4 separate regions of the Homo sapiens genome follow, and all the other regions are linked to region 2. The links are contacts of gene promoters, found by promoter capture Hi-C in blood cells and fetal thymus (Javierre and others, 2016). All regions are on one chromosome and are shown on one strand. The core of a region is centred on a gene start or on the middle of the fragment in contact, and the rest is flanking DNA. Distances in the headings are between cores, read along the strand shown. Region 1 overlaps FAM193B (family with sequence similarity 193 member B). Region 2 holds the start of LMAN2 (lectin, mannose binding 2). Region 3 has its middle 23 kb from the start of NSD1. Region 4 overlaps PDLIM7 (PDZ and LIM domain 7).

Region 1 (4,486 bases), core at 1,377-3,876, 200 kb after region 2:
CCCTAAAACTTTCTGTTTTAATATCCCCACAAGGCTAGCTCATCCGCTGAACTGCCTCCTGGGTGCAATGAGCCACAAGGAGGGCCCAAGCCGCAGATTTACCTGAATCCTCAGGTCAAACTGCCACTCTGCTACTCTAACCCCAGCACACGTTACTCATGGAGGAGGAAGAGCATGAATTTTGGGGACGAGACACACAGTTGTGAGTTCAAATCCCAGTTGCCATTTTCAATATGATCTTGGAATATTACTCAATTTCTTTGAGCCTCAATTTCCTCATTTATGAAATGGGAATAAAACCATATTTTACAGAGTTGTGAGGACAGAAGGAAATAAATTATGTAAAGTACCTGGCCTGGGCCTGGCACAAAGTAGGTGCTCAATACCCGTTAGTTTCTTTCCTCTTCTGCCCTGGAAGAAATGACAGGGAAACTTACTAAGTGAGACTTGCCCAAACCAAATTTATTTCTTTTTTTTTTTTTTTTGAGACGGAGTTTCGCTCTGTCGCCCAGGCTGGAGTGCAGTGGCGCGATCTCGACTCACTGCAAGCTCCGCCTCCCGGGTTCACGCCATTCTCCTGCCTCAGCCTCCTGTGTAGCTGGGACTACAGGCACGCGCCACCATGCCCGGCTAATTTTTGTATTTTTTAGTAGAGACGGGGTTTCACCGTGTTAGCCAGGATGGTCTCGATCTCCTGACCTCGTGATCCTCCCGTCTCGGCCTCCCAAAGTGCTGGGATTACAGGCGTGAGCCACCGCGCCCGGCCCCAAATTTATTTCTTGAAGCAAAGGACAGAAGGACTAGACAAGTGACTTCAAGGCCTCTTTGAACCCCCAGCTCCTTGTTTTCTGGCTATAACTTCCTAATAAAACCTTCAGTGTTTGCAGTTCCACCAGCCCCTTCTTTCTGCTTTAGTTTCCCTACATCATTTTTCACAGTAGATAGATCTACTCGTAGCTACCACTTGTGCTAAGCATCCTAAGCATGGAGGGGGAAATAATAAAGGGAGCTAAGGGCCTTTGGTGGAGAATGAAGGGGAGATGGACTGCAGCATGTTGGCCCACAGGCTGCACAACCATGCAGCTGCTGTGCTGGGAGCCACCCAGAGTCTGAAGGATGAAGGCAGGCTCACAGGCACAGAACCGAAGGCACACACACAGGGCCCTTCCCAAGACATAGCATGCCTCTCCTCAGTCCTTCTCTGCTTCTGCACATCCTGCCAAGAAGGACCAAATACATAAAGTAGTCACACCTTCCCATATGCTGTTCCTTCTGCCTTTTTCTTCTCTTTTTTTTAGGCTCGATCTGGGTGTTACATCCTCTTAAGTCCACAGGAAGAATGAACTTGGCTTTGCTCTAGGATATCCTAACACTCTTTTGTTTAAAAACGTATCTCTAGAATAGAGCTTATCATATATATTCTAGTGGTTGAAATCTGTCCTTTCCACAATACTGTGAGCTTTTCAAGGGCAGAGCCTGTGTCCCACAAGTCACTGTATTGCAGTCATTCAGCAGAAGCTGTAGCACAGAGTAGGCACAGGTAAGTGTTTGGATACACAATGGAAGATTATACACAATGGAAGTTGGCAAATATCATTAATAGATCAGAACTGGGGGAAGGTTTTTTGTTCTGTTTTAAACTAAGGTTGTTTCTGTTCTTGTTTATGGAAAAGCTCCTCCCTGGGAAACCCACTGTTTGAAGAATACCCTAGGTCTCCTCAAAGATCCCCCTGGCACCCTCAATTCAGCAGCTCCCAGACCCAGTCACATGTCAGAGTCACTTGGGAACAATTCAACAATAGATACCTGGGATCCAGACCTGGAGACTGACTCTGTAAGTCTGGGATAGGGTCCAGCAAAGCACAGGGGATCTGATGATTATTAGCTTGGGGCAAGGGAGAGGTGGAATCAAGCAATCACAGCTGTCTCTCCCACTGAGAATTACTTCCTCACATGCTATCAGAGAATGTATTGAAGCACATCACGTTCTCTTTCCTGCTTAAAACCTTTCATTGATTCTTCACCACCTACAGGATAAAGCCTAAACCTCTTGGTGTGGTTTTCAAGAACCCTGCTAGCCCCTTCAGCCGGATCTCTCCCGACTCTCCAAATGAGTGGTGCTCGCCCTGGGTCTTTGTACAAGTTCCTTCCTTTGTTTAGACTCCTTTCTACCACCTTGTCCTCTGGAGAACTTCTACACAACCTTGAAGACTCAGCTCTGAGAAGCATTCTCTGACCCATCTTCCTCTAGGTTATGTCTTGGGCAACCCTGACACCAAATATCTACAATACTCAGAGCTACCACTTGTGTTAAGCATACCGCACTTGTTGGACCCTAACATTAACCATGTAAGACTGGATTGTCTTTTCTTTTTTTTTTTTTTTTTTTTTTGAGAAAGGAGTCTCGCTCTGTCGCCCAGGCTGGAGTGCAGTGGCGCGATCTTGGCTCACTGCAAGCTCCACCTCCCAGGTTCACGCCATTCTCCTGCCTCAGCCTCCAAAGTAGCTGGGACTATAGGTGCCCGCCACCATGCCCGGCTAATTTTTTTGTATTTTTAGTAGAGACAGGGTTTCACCGTGTTAGCCAGGATGGTCTCGATCTCCTGACCTCGTGATCCTCCCGCCTCGGCCTCCCAAAGTGCTGGGATTACAGGCATGAGCCACCGCGCCCAGCCTGGATTGTCATTTTATACATGAGAAAACAAACCAAGAGGCTGAAACACTTGCAAAGGCCACTTAATAGGGTCCAGGATTTGAACCTTTATTCAGAGGAAGCCGATGCTATATCTCCTTCTAGCATTACTGCAATTACTATACACACGTTCTCTAGACTATGAGCCCCTTGTGGGAAGGGACTATGTCTGATTCACTTCTGCATGCGCAGCTAGCCCAGGCCTGGCACAGAGCTGGGATCGGTTAGTGTCTGCACAATAAATGCCATGTGAAATAAAACTGGGCATCACAGCATGCGAATGGCTGGCCTAAATGAATAACTGCCAGCCTGGCCCAGTTGTGGGGGCAGACAAGAACAAAGTGGTAGAATCCTTACTTATTATAATTTTTAACAGCCATGTATTGAGTATATAAGGTCCACACACAATATATTTCCCCCCAAATAAATTAAAACATAGACCCTGCTCTAAAAAATTCTAGATGAGGTAAGTAAAGGTGTTAGGATCATCCATCTGATATCAAAAATTAAAAATTTAAAACTCAGCTGGGTGTAGTGGCATGCACATGTAGTCCCAGCTATTTGGGAGGCTTAAGGAGAAGTATCACTTGAGTCCAGGAGTTTGAGGATAGCCTGGGCAACATAGCAAGATCCTATCTCTAAATTAAAAAAAAAAATTAAAATCCTAAGTGGGTAAGTCTTCATTTTCAAAGGTCTTTTGACATTTTTATATAGTGAGTCTCTACTGGCTTACAAAGAAGAACCAGAGGTGGCAAGGATCCCCTCAGTATCATTTCCTCCTACTGACAATGGAAGTAGTGCAGGCTGGGTAGGCACTGATTCTAAGGGGGAGGTCCCCAAAGATAGGAACTATCTTATCCATCTGTGCACCCCAAATAAAGGTCCTGGCACAGAGGTGGTTTTGGTATCTGCTGAGTGAATTAAACATAATGAGATGCTTTTATTAAAGATACTGACTAATCATCTGCTCCAATTTCTTGAGGGAACAGTGGAAGAATCGGATCTCTAGAGTCCCTTTAAACTAGACTGGGCAAAGTCCCAGAGGACAATGTGGAGGGAACAAGAGGTGGGGAAGGGTAGGATGAGTTCACCTCTCCTCACCAACTGCTGGCTTACATCCTAGCAAGTCTCCTGGGGGCTTATTGAGTGTACACTGGATTACAAACTCAGTGGTCCAAGAGAGATGAAAGACAGCTAGCAGAGCTAACAGGCCAGAACACTCAGGCTTTGTATGGCCACCTGGCACAGCTCCTGCCCCCTCTCTTAGGTGAGGCGCTTCTATGTACTAGCTGCTGCATAGGTTGCTTCTCTTGTGAAGTATTATTATTATTTTAAAAGGAGACGGTGTTTCCCTCTCTCCCCCAGGCTGGGGTGCAGTGGCGTGCACATGAAGTCCTGGGTAACTTAATTCCTGGGTTCAAGCAATCCTCCCGCCTCAGCATCCCAACTAGCTGAGACTATAGGTGTGAACCCATGCCCAGCTAAGTTTTGATTTTTTTTTTTTTATAGAACCAGAGATCTCACTATGTCACCAATGCTGGTCTCAAACTTCTGGCCTCAAGAGATCCTCCTGCCTCAGCCTCCCAAAGTGCCGGGATTACAGGCGTGAGCCACCAAGGCCTCTTGTGAAGTTCCTGATGGGGTCAGAGAGAAGCAACTTGCGGAGTCACAAAGCTAGGAGGCTAAGCTGGGAATTCAATCCAAGTCTCTAAACACTATTCCCCACTGCCTCCTACAATTGCTTTTTCAGTTGTTCTTTATTTTTTTTTTTGTTTGTTTTGTTTTCCTTTGCTA
Region 2 (3,999 bases), core at 921-3,420:
GAAGGCAAAACAATTGTACTCCAGACTGAAAATTCGATGAAGGCAAGTGCAGAAGCCTCTCAGTCCTGTGACATCCTCGAGCCACTGATGATGCCAACCATCAGCTATCTACAACCAAAATGTAAGCCACTGTCTTAGATGCGTCTATTACTTGTGGCTACTCCTGATTTCTACAGTTCCAGCACTGTTTGCACCTTGCTTTCAAAAAATAATAATAATGCTATACTGAACTCATTTCCATGAAAAATATAAGGCTGAATTATCATTTCTTTAAAATATCTGAAAGCCCTAAGACAGAATGTGACAGAATGTGACTCGGGGGAGATAGGGTGGTTAATGAAGAAATGTCTGCGTGGGTGGCACTTGAATTGAGACTTAACAGATGAGAAGGAACCAAGCAGGCATGAGGAGCCAGGAGGCAGTGTCCCAGACAGAGGGAACAACAGGTGCAAAGGTCCTGAGGCAAGAAGGCAGCCAGGGGGGGCTGGAACAAAATTAACACAGAGAATGACTGGAGATGCACAAGGGGCCAGATTGTGCAGACATAATGCATGCTTACCCCTTCACAGGGGACTCCACGCTCTGAGGATCAGACTGAAAGCTGAAGAAAGTATCCGCAGATGCCACTAACAGCAGTGTGGAGGCTCGGGGCAGGAAGGAGAGGAGGAGCAGAGGGGACGGGCAGACCAGGCAACACAAGGACAGTGTGGGTTCCCAGAACTAAACAAGAAAGTCAACCAGCAGGGATCAGAGAGCAGGGTGATGGAGAAAACTAGAACACTGGCCAACAGCTTAAGCCATGGGAAGGGCTGAGATTAGGCAAGCTGGGGCAGGAGCAGGTCCCGCTCCAAGCTGTAACCCAGCCCCAAATTATTCTTCTTTCCCCTTTTTCCTCACCTTGACTGCCTCAGTGTGGATTCTGTGTAGCAGCTGTCATTGGCCACTGCTCACATACTACATACTACATACTCTGAGGCAAAGGTCACAGACACTAGAACTGCCCACAGGTCCAGTCCCTCCACACTACTGATGACAAGACCCTCAACCAAGCATTGCAAAAAGGGTTCTAAGGGGTTCCTCCACTGTCCAGGTGAAAAGAGTCAAGTACATCGAGTGAACTGCTGGGCTTAGAGATCAGACAAATCAGAGTTTAAATACTGTTTATGACATTTGCTAGCTGGGTTATCTTTGTATAGTCATGAAAGCCATCTATTTCAAACAGCTTGTTTGAAAATTAAATGCAATAAGGCATGGCAAGGTCAGTGCCTAATACACAGCAAAACACCCAATAAAGATCCAGTTCGCTCGGTTCTTCCCATTACTGAGGGGGTTCAAGGCAGACAGCCTGACAGTTCCACTACTTTCTGGCTATGTAACTTTGGGTAAGGCCCTTTCAAACCTGAGTCTTAGCTTCTCAGTGGGTAAAATGGAGATAACATTACTCATCTCGCATGGCTTTTAAAGTGAGGAGGATGTAAAGTGTCAAGCGCAGCTCCTGACACATAGTAAGTACCCAATACCCATCGCCTCTTATTATTGGTGGGTGTGACCGAGATGAGGAAAAGGCCAGGGACGGAGGTGCAAACCTATAAACGAAGCTGGGGTCTCAGCTGCTCGGGAGGCAGGGACTAGCAGCCAACCGCACAGTACGCCTATCCTCTTGAGAACCACTCACCTGGTGGTTCCAGATAGAGCCCTCTTTGCTGCGCTCGTCAGGGGTCAGACGTACGTACTGGCTCGTGAGCATAGTGCTGCCCTGGAAGTCCCAGAGGGGCATAGAGCTGGAACCGACCCCTGTGGGAAGAGACAGGTGCTAAGAGGCCACGCCAGGACTGGCCTCACCAGAGGCAGGAAACCCACAGAGATGCTCTGCTCAGGAGAAAGGGCACGCCTTCCCCTAGCCCTGTTCAGCCTCGCCCTCACTCTTCACTCATTCCCGCCCCAAGGGCTTCACCTTGGTAGGGCTTAATGAGCGAATGCTCCCGCTTGAGATGTTCACTGTTGCCGTCAGTTATATCCGCAGTCACAGACCCCAACAACAAAAGAAGAAAGAGAGGTGTAGTGGGGCCAGGGCCGGGGCCGAGAAGCCCAGGCCTTCCCAGGCACCGCCGGCCCCAGCCCCAACGCCAAATCCAGCCTTCCGCCGCCATTCTCCTCTCCTCTCGGCCACTTCCGCCCTAGAACTTCCGCCTTCCGGGGGTCCCATCTATTGGCCTCCGGCCGGAAGCTCTTCAACTTTACTGTCGCCAGGGAGTCAAAAAGCAAAGCCTCCGCAGCAGACGGGGCGGCAGCTGCATTGGCCGGGCAGCCTCTCATCCTGGTTGAGTGCAGTTTCATCTCCTTAGAGGCTCCAAGGCACACGCCGGCCAGCCCCAGCAATGGGTTCTTTCGAGCGACAAGAGCTGTAACCAGTCACGGAACAGCACGTTAGGCTTGCGAGCCAATGAGGAGCAGAGGGATGGTTGGAGCCGGCGGGAGCGCGAGGGCCGTCCGCGACTCGGGGCATGCTGGAATTTGTAGTTTTTGTCGGTCGCTCTAATGGGGCGGATTCGCGAAGACTAGGACGTCTTGGGCTTCTGGCCGCAAGTCCCGTCTCTGGAATAACCTTTTCTAGTCCTGGAGAAAGGAGCTCTGAATTGAAGGCGGAGTCCTGCATTCCAACCCTTGTCCTCCCCGGGTGGCCCTGGGCAAGCCTTTAAGCCGTGCCTGCCGTCAGGCGCCCCAGCTTCGCGCCTTTGGAGACTCAGAATTCCCAATTATTTGAGGGCCTCCACTACCCTCAACTCCTCAGGCCTAGTCGGGTTGAAGCAAGAGGAACAGACACAGATCCTGGCCTGGGACCCCAGTGATGACTGGAACTCATCCCTATGCAAAAGAGCGCAGTGCCTGGTACAGCAAGTAACGTCCATGGAAGGCCCAGGAAAGCTGTGAATCAGAGGTCGAAAACTGGTGGCCTGCAGCTGAATAGAGCTCTGTTTTACCTGCCAATATTCTAATAAATGGCTTAACTACCAGTATTTTAAAGTCAGAATATAGAGGCTGGGCGTGGTGGCTCACGCCTGTAATCCCAGCACTTTGGGAGGCTGAGGCCGGCGGATCACGAGATCGGGAGATCGAGACCATCCTGGCTAGCACGGTGAAACCCCGTCTCTACTAAAAAATACAAAAAATTAGCCGGGCGTGGTGGCAGGTGTCTGTAGTCCCAGCTACTCGGGAGGCTGAGCCAGGAGAATGGCTTGAACCCAGGAGGCAGAGCTTGCAGTGAGCCGAAATCGCGTCACTGCACTCCAGCCTGGGCGACAGAGCGAGACTCTGTCACACACACACACACACACACACACACACACACACACACACACAAAGTCGGAATATGTACATTCACATCAGAAATCCAGACTTCCGGCTGAGCTCAGTGGCTGAGGCCTGTAATCCTAGCACTTTGGGAGGCAGAGGCGAGCAGATTACCTGAGCTCAGGAGTTTCAGACCAGCCTGGGCAACACGGTGAAACCCCGTCTCTACTAAAATACAAAAGAAATTAACGGCGTGGTGGCGGACACCTGTAGTCCCAGCTACTCGGGAGGCTGAGGCAGGAGAATTGCTTGAACCCAGGAGGCAGAGGTTGCAGTGAGCAGAGATCACGCCATTGCATTCCAGCCGGGGCGACAGAGCAAGACTCTGTCTCTACAAAAAAAAAAAAAAAGAAGAAGAAGAAGAAGAAAAGAAATCCAGACTTCCGTTTTTTTACCCAAAAAAAAAAAAAAAGAAGCAGCAGCAAAAGATCTAGGCACACATTCCCACAACAGAACAATAGGCTGGAGCTGAATGGGACTGCCCCTCCACCAATGCCTTCCTCTTCTAAGCTGGTCCCCACCTGGTCACTCGTTTACAGCACTTGCCTGGCTCCTCCAGACATTTGAATCAATGACTCCTGTTGTAGATCACAGGGAGGGATGTTGGTTGCTTGCTCCTTTTAGAAACTGCCCTCTTGAATGAATGGA
Region 3 (4,594 bases), core at 331-2,830, 240 kb before region 2:
GAGGTCAGGATTTCGAGACCAGCCTGGGCAACATGGTGAAACCCCGTCTCCACTAAAAGTACAAAAATTAGCCAGGCATGGTGACTCAAGCCTGTAATCCCAGCATTTTGGGAGGCCAAGGAGGGCAGATCACGAGGTCAGGAGTTCAAGACCAGCCTGACCAGTAGGGTGAAACCCCGTCTCTACTAAAAATACAAAAATTAACCAGGCATGGTGGTGCACACCTGTAATCTCAGCTACTCAGGAGGCTGAGGCAGGAGAATGGCGTGAACCCAGGAGGCGGAGCTTGCAGTGAGCTGAGATCGTCCCACTGCACTCCAGCCTGGGTGACAGAGAGAGACTCCGTCTCAAAAAAAAAAAAAAAAAAAAGCTGGAGAACTCCAGGTGCTGGCAAGGAGACGAGAGGCTCTCCTGGACTGGGGGCTGAAGCTGTCCCAGCGAAGTCTAGGAGCATTCAGCTAAGTATATACACACATGCCCTATGACCTGGAAATGTTGCCCTGAACATATAACTGCCCCCAAACACACACACACACACACACACACACACACACACACACACACAACACACAGAGATCCTCCCATGTGACCGTGTGGGGAAGGCAGGAGGAGGGGTTGGATCCAGCCTGGGGTTCCTCACTGGAAGGCGGATCAGCAGAATGTGTGGAGGACCCGGTGGACACAGAGCCACATGGGGGACTTAGAAATCTCGTGCTGAGAGGCAAGAGGAAGAAATGGAATGAGATCTAAAGCACAAAGCCACTTGCACGAAATGATGACACGGAAAACACACATTTTCCAAGAACGCACACACAAAACTATTAGCACGACTGTCTGGGGGGCAGGGTGATAAGAATGGAGAATGAGGCCTGGCGTAGTGTCTCACGCCTGTAATCCCAGCACTTTGGGAGGCCGAGGCGGATGGATCTCGAGATCAGGAGATCAAAACCATTTTGGCCAACATGGTGAAACCCTGTCTCTACTAAAAATACAAAAATTAGCCGGGCGTGGTGGCACGCGCCTGTAATCCCAGCTACTCCGGAGGCTGAGGCAGGAGAATTGCTGGAACCCGGGAGGCAGAGGTTGCAGTGAGCTGAGATTGTGCCATTGCACTCCAGCCTGGGCAACAAGAGCAAAACTCTGTATTAGAAGAAAAAAAAAAAAGAACGAAGCACTGAGCACTGACCAGATAGAGGAAGGCGTGCAGGGGTGTGGAGTTGTGGAGTGTTGGGAATTGAAAGGCTCAGTAAATCAAGAAATGTTTACTGGGCACCTACCATAGGCCAGGTACTCTTCTAGTCACTGGGTATACCCAGTGAAGACAGACCTGGCCCCTGCCCTGAGGAGTTTCGTATCTACAAATGGAGACAGATATTCAACAAACACCCAGGAAAATGCTGACTGTAATGAAACGCAGAGCTCTGAAGGTCAACAGCCTGCAGCTGTGAGTGCTGACGGTGGGGACTGATCCTGGCCGGCTCCGGCTCCGGCTCCGGCTCCGGGAAGGGTTCCCTGAGGGAATGATGTTTGAGTTGAAGGAGGAGAGCCTTGGCCTTGTGAAGAGTGGGAGGAAATGCATTCCAGGCAGACAGAATGGTCTCTGCAAAGGTCTGGAGGCAGGCAGGTGCAGGGCGAAGGTGAGGGCATCCGATCCAGCTCCGTGGACAGAGCACAAGAGTGAGGGGGAACACGGTGCCAGATGAGGCCAAACCCAGGGGGCCTCGTAGGCTGTGGGTTTATCCTAAGGCAAGTGACAAGACAGGAAAGCAAGGGGCTGGTGCAGATGGGCAGGCAGTGGAGGGGATTGTTGCAGCGCCTGGCTAGACTCAGAGCCGGGAACCGGAACAGCCCCCCAAAGTACATGTGTGGCCTCCCAAGAAGACAGAAGTAAGAGCCCCAGAGCATCCACAGAGTGACCATCCACGCTGTCTCCCACTCTCTGGTCTGGGGCCAGCAGCGCCTCTGCACAGCTACATTCTGAGGCTCCCAGCTTGGCCAAGGGGATAGAGAAAAGTGGAAGGCCAGATGCAGAATAAGAGGATTTGCTAGGCCAGGCATGGCATTTCACGCCTGAAATCCCAGCATTTTGGGAGGCTGAGGCGGGAGAATGACTTGAGGCCAGGAGTTCAGGACCAGTCTGGGCAACACAGTGAGACCCTGTCTCTACAAAAAAAATAAAACAATTAGCCGAGTGCGAGAACACGTGCCTGTAGTCCCAGCTACTTGGGAGGCTGAGGTGGTAGGATCACTCTTACAGAGAGAACAGTCTCTGCTTGGAATAGTCCAAGCTCCTTAACACGCAGAGGAGGCCTTCAGGATCTGGCCCAGTAGGTTGCAGTGAGCTACGATATTGAGTCTCTGCACTCCAGCCTGGAACACAGAGCAAGCTCCTGTCTGAAATAAATAAATAAATAAATAAATAAATAAATAAATAAATAAAAGGGAGGCCGGGCACAGTGGTTCATGCCTGTAATCCCAGCACTTTGGGAGGCTGAGGCGGGCAGATCACCTGAGGTCAGGAGTTTGAGATGAGCCTGGCCAACACAGTGAAACCCTGTCTCTACTAAAAATACAAAAATTAGCTGGGTGTGGGTGGGCTACTAGGTAGCCCAGCTACTCGGGAGGCTGAGGCAGGAGAATCGCTTGAGCCCAGGAGGTGGAGGTTGCAGTGAGCCGAGATCATGCCACTGCACTCCAGCCTGGATGACAGAGCAAGACTCCCTCTCAAAAACAAAATAAAAATAAAAATAAAAGGGGGCTGGGCGCAGTGGCTCACACCTGTAATCCCAGCACTTTGGGAGACTGAGGCGGGGGATCACAAGGTCAGGAGCTCAAGACCAGCCTGGCCAAGATGGTGAAACCCCGTCTCTACTAAAAATACAAAAAATTAGCTGGGCGTGGTGGCGGGCGCCTGTAGTCCCAGCTACTTGGGAGACTGAGGCAGAGAATTGCTTGAACCTGGGAGGCGGAGGTTGCAGTGAGCCAAGATCGCACCACTGCACTCCAGCCTGGGTGACAGAGCGAGACTCTGTCTCAAAAAAAACCCAGAAAATAAATAAATAAATAATAATAAAAGGGGACTGGCTGATGGGGGGTGGGAGGGTGAAGGAGGTGATGGAGAACCTGGAGATGGGAAAGGACAGAAAGTTGAGTGAACAGGTGGCATCAGTGTGTTTCAGGGGCCTGAGGAGGGACCACAAGGGGGTGGACAGGGCAGATGATGATGAAAATGTCGCCAGACCAACACACTGTGCCTGACCGTGAAACAAACAACAGGAAGCCAGCAGCATCCCAATTTCACTATCCTTGTGCCTTTCACCCCAACTCTTCCCAGCCCCTTCCACGTCCATCCCTTGGCCTCGTCCTCTCCTTTCCTCCTCCATCTCTTTTTTTCTCTCTGGTCTGTCTGCCCTGTGAGGGGTCTCCAGGTAGAAGGAAGAGTTGGAGGGGACATGGTGGGGCGTTGTTGCCACCTGCTGGCAGCCACAGGAAGTGCATACTCCAGCCTGGTGCATGGTGCAAGCCTGAGCTGGGGACCCCGAGTCTTCCCCTGCTGGTGGTGATCGGGTGATTCCTGAAGGACCCTGGCTGGTGGTGATCGGGTGATTCCTAGACCCTGGCTCTAGGCACTGTGTTTTTCAGAACGATGCTGATAAGCCACTCTCCACCTTACTCAAGGGAATCGCTGATGGACAAAACCATAATTGCCCCTGCTCAAACCCTTCCCCATCCTCAGGCGTTGGTCCAAGCTCCATAATACGCTTAATAGGAGACCTTCATGATCTGGCCTTGGCCTCAGGCACAGCATCTTGTTCTCATTAGTTTCAGTGCCTTCCCCAGTGCACAGGACCTTTGCACCTGCCCTCTCTTCCTAGAACAGTCTCCCCGCTTCTGGTTTTCCAAACTCCTCCTCCTCTTTCGGGGTTCCAATTCCCCACCTCCCTGGAAGAGAGCTTCTAGCACCTCCACATTAAGCAGGGAGGATGAGCATCTCAAGCCATGGGAACAGCATGCGCGAAGGCCCAAGATGCTTCAAGGGGTTGGAAGAGGGCCAAAGGCCTGAGAGGGTGACGGGGTTGGCAGGGCTGTGGCAACAGGTACCATGGTCCTGGGTGATGGGTTGAGTCCCTGGTGAACAGTGGAAGGTCAAGGTTTTCAGTAGCAGCAGACATGGTCAGATATGTGTTTGGAAGGGCCCACGTAAGGTTGCCAAGTGCAAAAGGCACTGACAAGGCAAAAGTGGGTTTGGGGGCAACAGGTGGGGGCTGCATAGGAGAGAGATGGTGGGGGCTTGGATCCTTGAGCCCCCCACTTCCTGCTGGCTGGGTCCTGAGCTGGGGCTCCCAGTCCTGTCTCCAGTCTTTCTGGGCTAGACAGGGGCAGCCCTGCAAGGTGCCAGCCTAATTCCTCTGCCTGACCTCCCTGAGGGGACTCTAGCGTACCCTGGTGTGCTCCACACCGGCCCTGGCTGCCTCCTCTGATAGCCCCACCCCACATGCATACCTCTTATACCCTCGTGTTAGGCACCCACATGCTGCCTGCCTCTCTGAGCCAGCCCCTATGGCCTGTGGGAGCTGCCCTCCCATTCTACAGA
Region 4 (4,302 bases), core at 638-3,137, 130 kb after region 2:
CCCTGCTGCAACTCCTCCTCCCAGCCTCCCTCCTGCACTCCCTCAGTGTTCTGGGGCCTCTTTTCTGCAATACAACACAAACCTATTTCAAACTCTGCTGTGCCTTGCCCTGCCCTAACCTCAAGAGACAGCCCCAGCTCTACTGCCTGGCACTCGTGGCTTCCCAGGACCTAAGGGCTACCCTCTCCAGCCCTGCCTTCTTCTGTTTGGACGGCAGCTGGCCCCTCCAGGACTTTGCTGTGGCCATTGCTGTTTTCCACACCGTATCTCTGCAGATCCACCCCCAACTACAACTACCCTTCTTTTTTTTTTTTTTTTTTTTTTTTTGAAGCAGGGTCTCGCTCTGCCATCTGCCACCCAGGCTCGCGCGCAGTGGTGTGATCTCAGCTCACTGCAACCTCCACTTCCCAGGTTCAAGTGATTTTCCCGCCTCAGCCTCCTGAGTGGCTGGGATTACAGGCATGCCCCACCACACTCGGCTAATTTTTGTATTTTTACTAGAGACGCTGTTTCACCGTGTTGGCCATGAGGTCTCGAACTCCTGACCTCAAGCGATCTGCCCACCTTGGCCTTCCAAAGTGCTGGGATCACAGGCATGAGCCACCATGCTAACTACCCTTCCTAACTACCCTTCTCTAACCTCCAAGCCAGGCCAGACCAGTGGCTCCCCTCATGTCTGTGGGCACCGGGCCTGGCACATGGGGTCTCGCCTGTACCTCCTCCACTAACCATGAGCCCGCCATGTCTGCATCACGAGGACCACCCAGATGGCCAGCCCAAGAAAACCATCTTACTCTCCACCCTGCCACGTGCCTCAAATTCTGCCCCTCCGGATGCACAGGGGAAGGGCACACAAGACACAGCTGGGTACAGGTTTATTGTGGCACTGGAGGTGAAAGGGGGCTGGTGTGGCCAGCACCGGTGTGCTGTGGTGGTGGAGGGAGTGGGGTGGGAGGATAAGGTGGGTGGGGCAGGGCCCAGGGAGCCCCAGGCTCGGGCCAGGAGCCAGGGTTAAGGCAACCATTGCCAGCCCTACCCAGAAATGCAGGGCCACGACTCCAGGCCCCTCAGGCTAGGGGCCACCGCGGCAGCTGTGGGCAGAAGGGGCTCACACATGAGAGAAGGCATGGCTCTTGCAGAGAGGCCTGTCCTTCTTGGAGTAGAAGGTCTTTCCTTCCAGGTTGATCTGACATATCTAAGGACAGCAAAGGCCCAGTCACATGGGGTTGGGGGCAGCAGGAGAGGCCCCTTCCCAACTTCTCCTGCATCTCCTGGGGAATGAACAGAGGGCCGGTGGGCTTGGGGCTCAGTTCGAGGGGCGGGGCTCTCACCGCACAGACGAAGCAGGTGTCATGCCAGCTGAAGCCCAGGGCCTCCAGGAAGCGGTCCCCAGCGTCGATCTTGAAGTCACAGCCATGGCATTTCGTGCCAAACATCTTCTCATAGTCTGAGAATGGGGGCAGAGAGAAAGAGGACCTGGATTCATGCCTGCCCCATGCACCATCCCTCCTCACCCTCACTGGCCAGTGGGTACCTCGCTCGCAATAGGGCACGCCCTCCTCCATGTAGAAGGCCCTGTTCCGGATGGGCGTCTTGCAGGCAGCACAGGTAAAGCAGTGCACGTGCCAGGTCATCTTCAGGGCGTGCATGATCTCCTGGAAGGAGGTCCCAGTCACTCGGCAGGCTCAGGCCCCTCCTGCCCTGCCCTGGGTCACGGGAACACAGGAGGGCTGGCCGCAAGCCCTGTTCCTTCTCGCGGTAAACACTACATCTAACTGTTCAGGACTCCCACACCTCCATCTCCAACTCCAAGGTCTCTGAGTGGACGACCACTGCGCCTTCAGACTTGCCATGTCCAGCACTCAGTTCCTGATTCCCTCACCCCAAACCTCTCCTCCCACAGCCATCCCCATCACGCGGATGGCAACTCCATTCTCCTGTCTGCTGCAGCCAAACACACCCTCCTCTCACACCCCACACCAGGTCCACCAGGAAATCCAGTGGGGCCCACCCCCAAGGCACATCCAGATTCTGAGTGCTTCTCACAGCCTCCCTGAAGTGAGGTAAGCCATGGCCATCTGGCCCGTGGGACCACATAACAACTGGCCTACAAGCTCCTCTCTCTGATCCCAGCTGCCACAGCGTGCCCCTGCAACCCAAGACAGGCCTTCTCCCCCTGCATGAAACTGTGTACTGCTTCCCATTGCTCCCAGCAAGAGCCAAGCCCCATGCAGAGGCTGGAGGCCAGCAGGTCTGACCTCGTTCCCAACCGTCTCCGCCACTGCTCTCCCTTGCGTTCTCACCTTGCCTCTGCACACTGGCCTCTTGCCTGAAACTGGCACACCAGGCACACTCCTGTCCTGGGCTTGACACCGGCTGTCCCCTCTGCCTGGACTGCTCTGCCCCAGATATCTCTAGGCTCACCCCTCACCCCCTTCAAGTTTCTGCTCGAATGCAGTCTTCTCCATGAGGGCCCACTCTGACCACACCAGCAGCAGCCAGCTGCCTTCCCTGCACCACGCACCCCAGCACTTGTCGCTCTGCTCTTTCCTGTTTTCCGTAACGTGATCTAACATTACTTCCAGGCAACCTACTTATTGCGCTTATTGCTTACAGTCTGCCTCTCCCCTCTTCTTCCAGCCAAAATGTAAGGCCCAGAAGGGCAGGAAGCATCAACTGTTTTGTTAGCTGATCTATCCCCACAGTGCCTGGCCCTTTGTGGGTGAGTCGACTGGCCTCCGCAGGAGGTGGGAAGGGGCAGAGGCACAAGGGGCTGAGCTCTCCCTGGGCTGGGCTGTTCATCCCTAGGACCCTCGGGGCCAGCCGGGGCCAGCCAGGGCCAGCAGTATTCACATCTGGAGCAGGCAGAGGGCAGCATGGGGCCTCGAGGCGGTATGAGGGTCCAAGATGTGTGGGTCTGGCCAGACCTTGACCTTCTCAAGTCTTGGTTTCTTCCCTTGTGAACTGGGAAGCTAATCCCAGCCTTGTGAGGCTGTTATGAGGATGGCCCTGAGTTTAAATCCAGGGATCCCAGATCCAATCCCTGCAAGGGCCAAGTGGGGACTGTGTCACACGGAGGAGGACCTCTTCTTCTGGGAGCAGTACTACTGGTTCATTCAGGAATGCCTGCCTGGCTCAGGCTGAAATCTAGGTGTTAAAGAGAAATCTGCTGGGCGCAGTGGCTCACGTCTGTAATCCCAGTGCTTTGGGAGGCCAAGGTGGGAGGATCGCTCGAGGCCAGGAGTTCGAGACCAGCCTGGGCAACATAGCAAAACCTCATCTCTACAAAAAGATTTAAAAATCTGCTGAGCATGCTGGTGGGCACCTCTAGTCCTAGCTATTTGGGAGGCTGAGGTGGGAGGATCCTCTGAGCCCAGGAGATCAAGGCTGCAGTGAGCAGTGATCATGCCACTGCACTCCAGCCTGGGCAACAGAGCAAGACCCTATCATTATACATAAAGAAATAAAAAGCAGGAGATCTCACTTTCCCTCTGCCTCCCAAGTAGCTGGGACCACAGGTGCATGCCACCACACTTGGCTAATTTTCTAATTTTTTTTTTTTTGTAGAAACAGGGGTCTTGCTATGGTGCCCATGCTGGTCTTGAACTCCTGGGCTCAAGCAATCCTCCCACCTTGGCCTCCCAAAGTGCTGGGATTACAGGCATGAGCCACTGCATCATGCAGGCAAATCTTCTGATTTTTTAAATTGTTTGCTACTGATTTTAAAATGAAACAGTGTGGGCCAAGCAAGACATAAGTGTGGGGGACATGTAGCCTTCGGATGGTGCATTTCTGCCCTCCACAACACCTGTACCCCATCTTACATCTACCTTGCAACCGTGCCGGCCCTAGCATAGTGCCACCCTTCTCTTCAGTGAGGCCCAGAGAGAGCAACTAGCCCCTGCTCACACAGCCAGTAGATCACAGAAATAGGTTTTCTGCCCATGTCTGGCTGGCTCTTCTCACTGTCTGGTGTTGCCTGTTTTAGAGGAGCAGACAAGGTCACAGTGAAGGAACTTGGGCTTTGAGCTGGTGGGAGAGGGGGCTCTACCAGGGGTGTGGGCTGGTAGGGCAGGAGCCCAAGGCTGGGAGGCAGATTTCTCTTTCTTTTTTTCTTTTTGAGACAAGAGTCTCGCTCTGTCGCCCAGGCTGGAGTGCAGTGGCGCGATCTCGGCTCACTGCAAGCTCTGCCTCCCAGGTTCACGCCATTCTCCTGCCTCAGCCTCCCGAGTAGCTGGGACTACTCCACCATGCCCGGCCAATTTTTTTGTATTTTTAGTAGAGATGGGGTTTCACCGTGTT

What was found. The method cuts DNA at HindIII sites, captures the fragments that hold promoters and counts their contacts. A CHiCAGO score of 5 or more calls a contact.
Region 1: a fragment that was not itself captured here is called in contact with the fragment with the promoter of LMAN2 in region 2 in 7 of 17 cell types (monocytes, activated CD4 T cells, total CD8 T cells and 4 more); the score reaches 8.7 in monocytes.
Region 3: a fragment that was not itself captured here is called in contact with the fragment with the promoter of LMAN2 in region 2 in 1 of 17 cell types (fetal thymus); the score reaches 5.8 in fetal thymus.
Region 4: a contact is called between a fragment that was not itself captured here and the fragment with the promoter of LMAN2 in region 2, in 8 of 17 cell types (activated CD4 T cells, total CD8 T cells, total CD4 T cells and 5 more). The highest score is 7.7, in activated CD4 T cells.

Annotation. Positions count from the first base shown.
Region 1 is chr5:177,546,818-177,551,303 of GRCh38, forward strand. All of the region lies in intron 1 of FAM193B (family with sequence similarity 193 member B), which reads right to left. Among named protein-coding and RNA genes, the nearest start is that of FAM193B, 5.5 kb to the right of the region's middle. The HindIII fragment of the contact is 5,989 bases long and covers 1-4,486 here.
Region 2 is chr5:177,349,498-177,353,496 of GRCh38, forward strand. LMAN2 (lectin, mannose binding 2) reads right to left here and starts at 2,171. Exons shown (of 8, transcript NM_006816.3): 1 at 1,955-2,171; 2 at 1,676-1,794. The coding sequence starts at 2,150. RefSeq lists enhancers at 2,112-2,301, 2,312-2,361 and a silencer at 2,256-2,470. The HindIII fragment of the contact is 10,936 bases long and covers 1-3,999 here.
Region 3 is chr5:177,108,566-177,113,159 of GRCh38, forward strand. No RefSeq gene overlaps it. Among named protein-coding and RNA genes, the nearest start is that of NSD1, 23 kb to the right of the region's middle. RefSeq lists an enhancer at 1,669-2,168. The HindIII fragment of the contact is 6,039 bases long and covers 1-4,594 here.
Region 4 is chr5:177,482,536-177,486,837 of GRCh38, forward strand. PDLIM7 (PDZ and LIM domain 7) reads right to left here. Exons shown (of 13, transcript NM_005451.5): 11 at 1,535-1,655; 12 at 1,332-1,447; 13 at 859-1,195. The coding sequence ends at 1,109. Among named protein-coding and RNA genes, the nearest start is that of DBN1, 11 kb to the left of the region's middle. RefSeq lists enhancers at 1,481-2,196, 2,197-2,912. The HindIII fragment of the contact is 7,991 bases long and covers 1-4,302 here.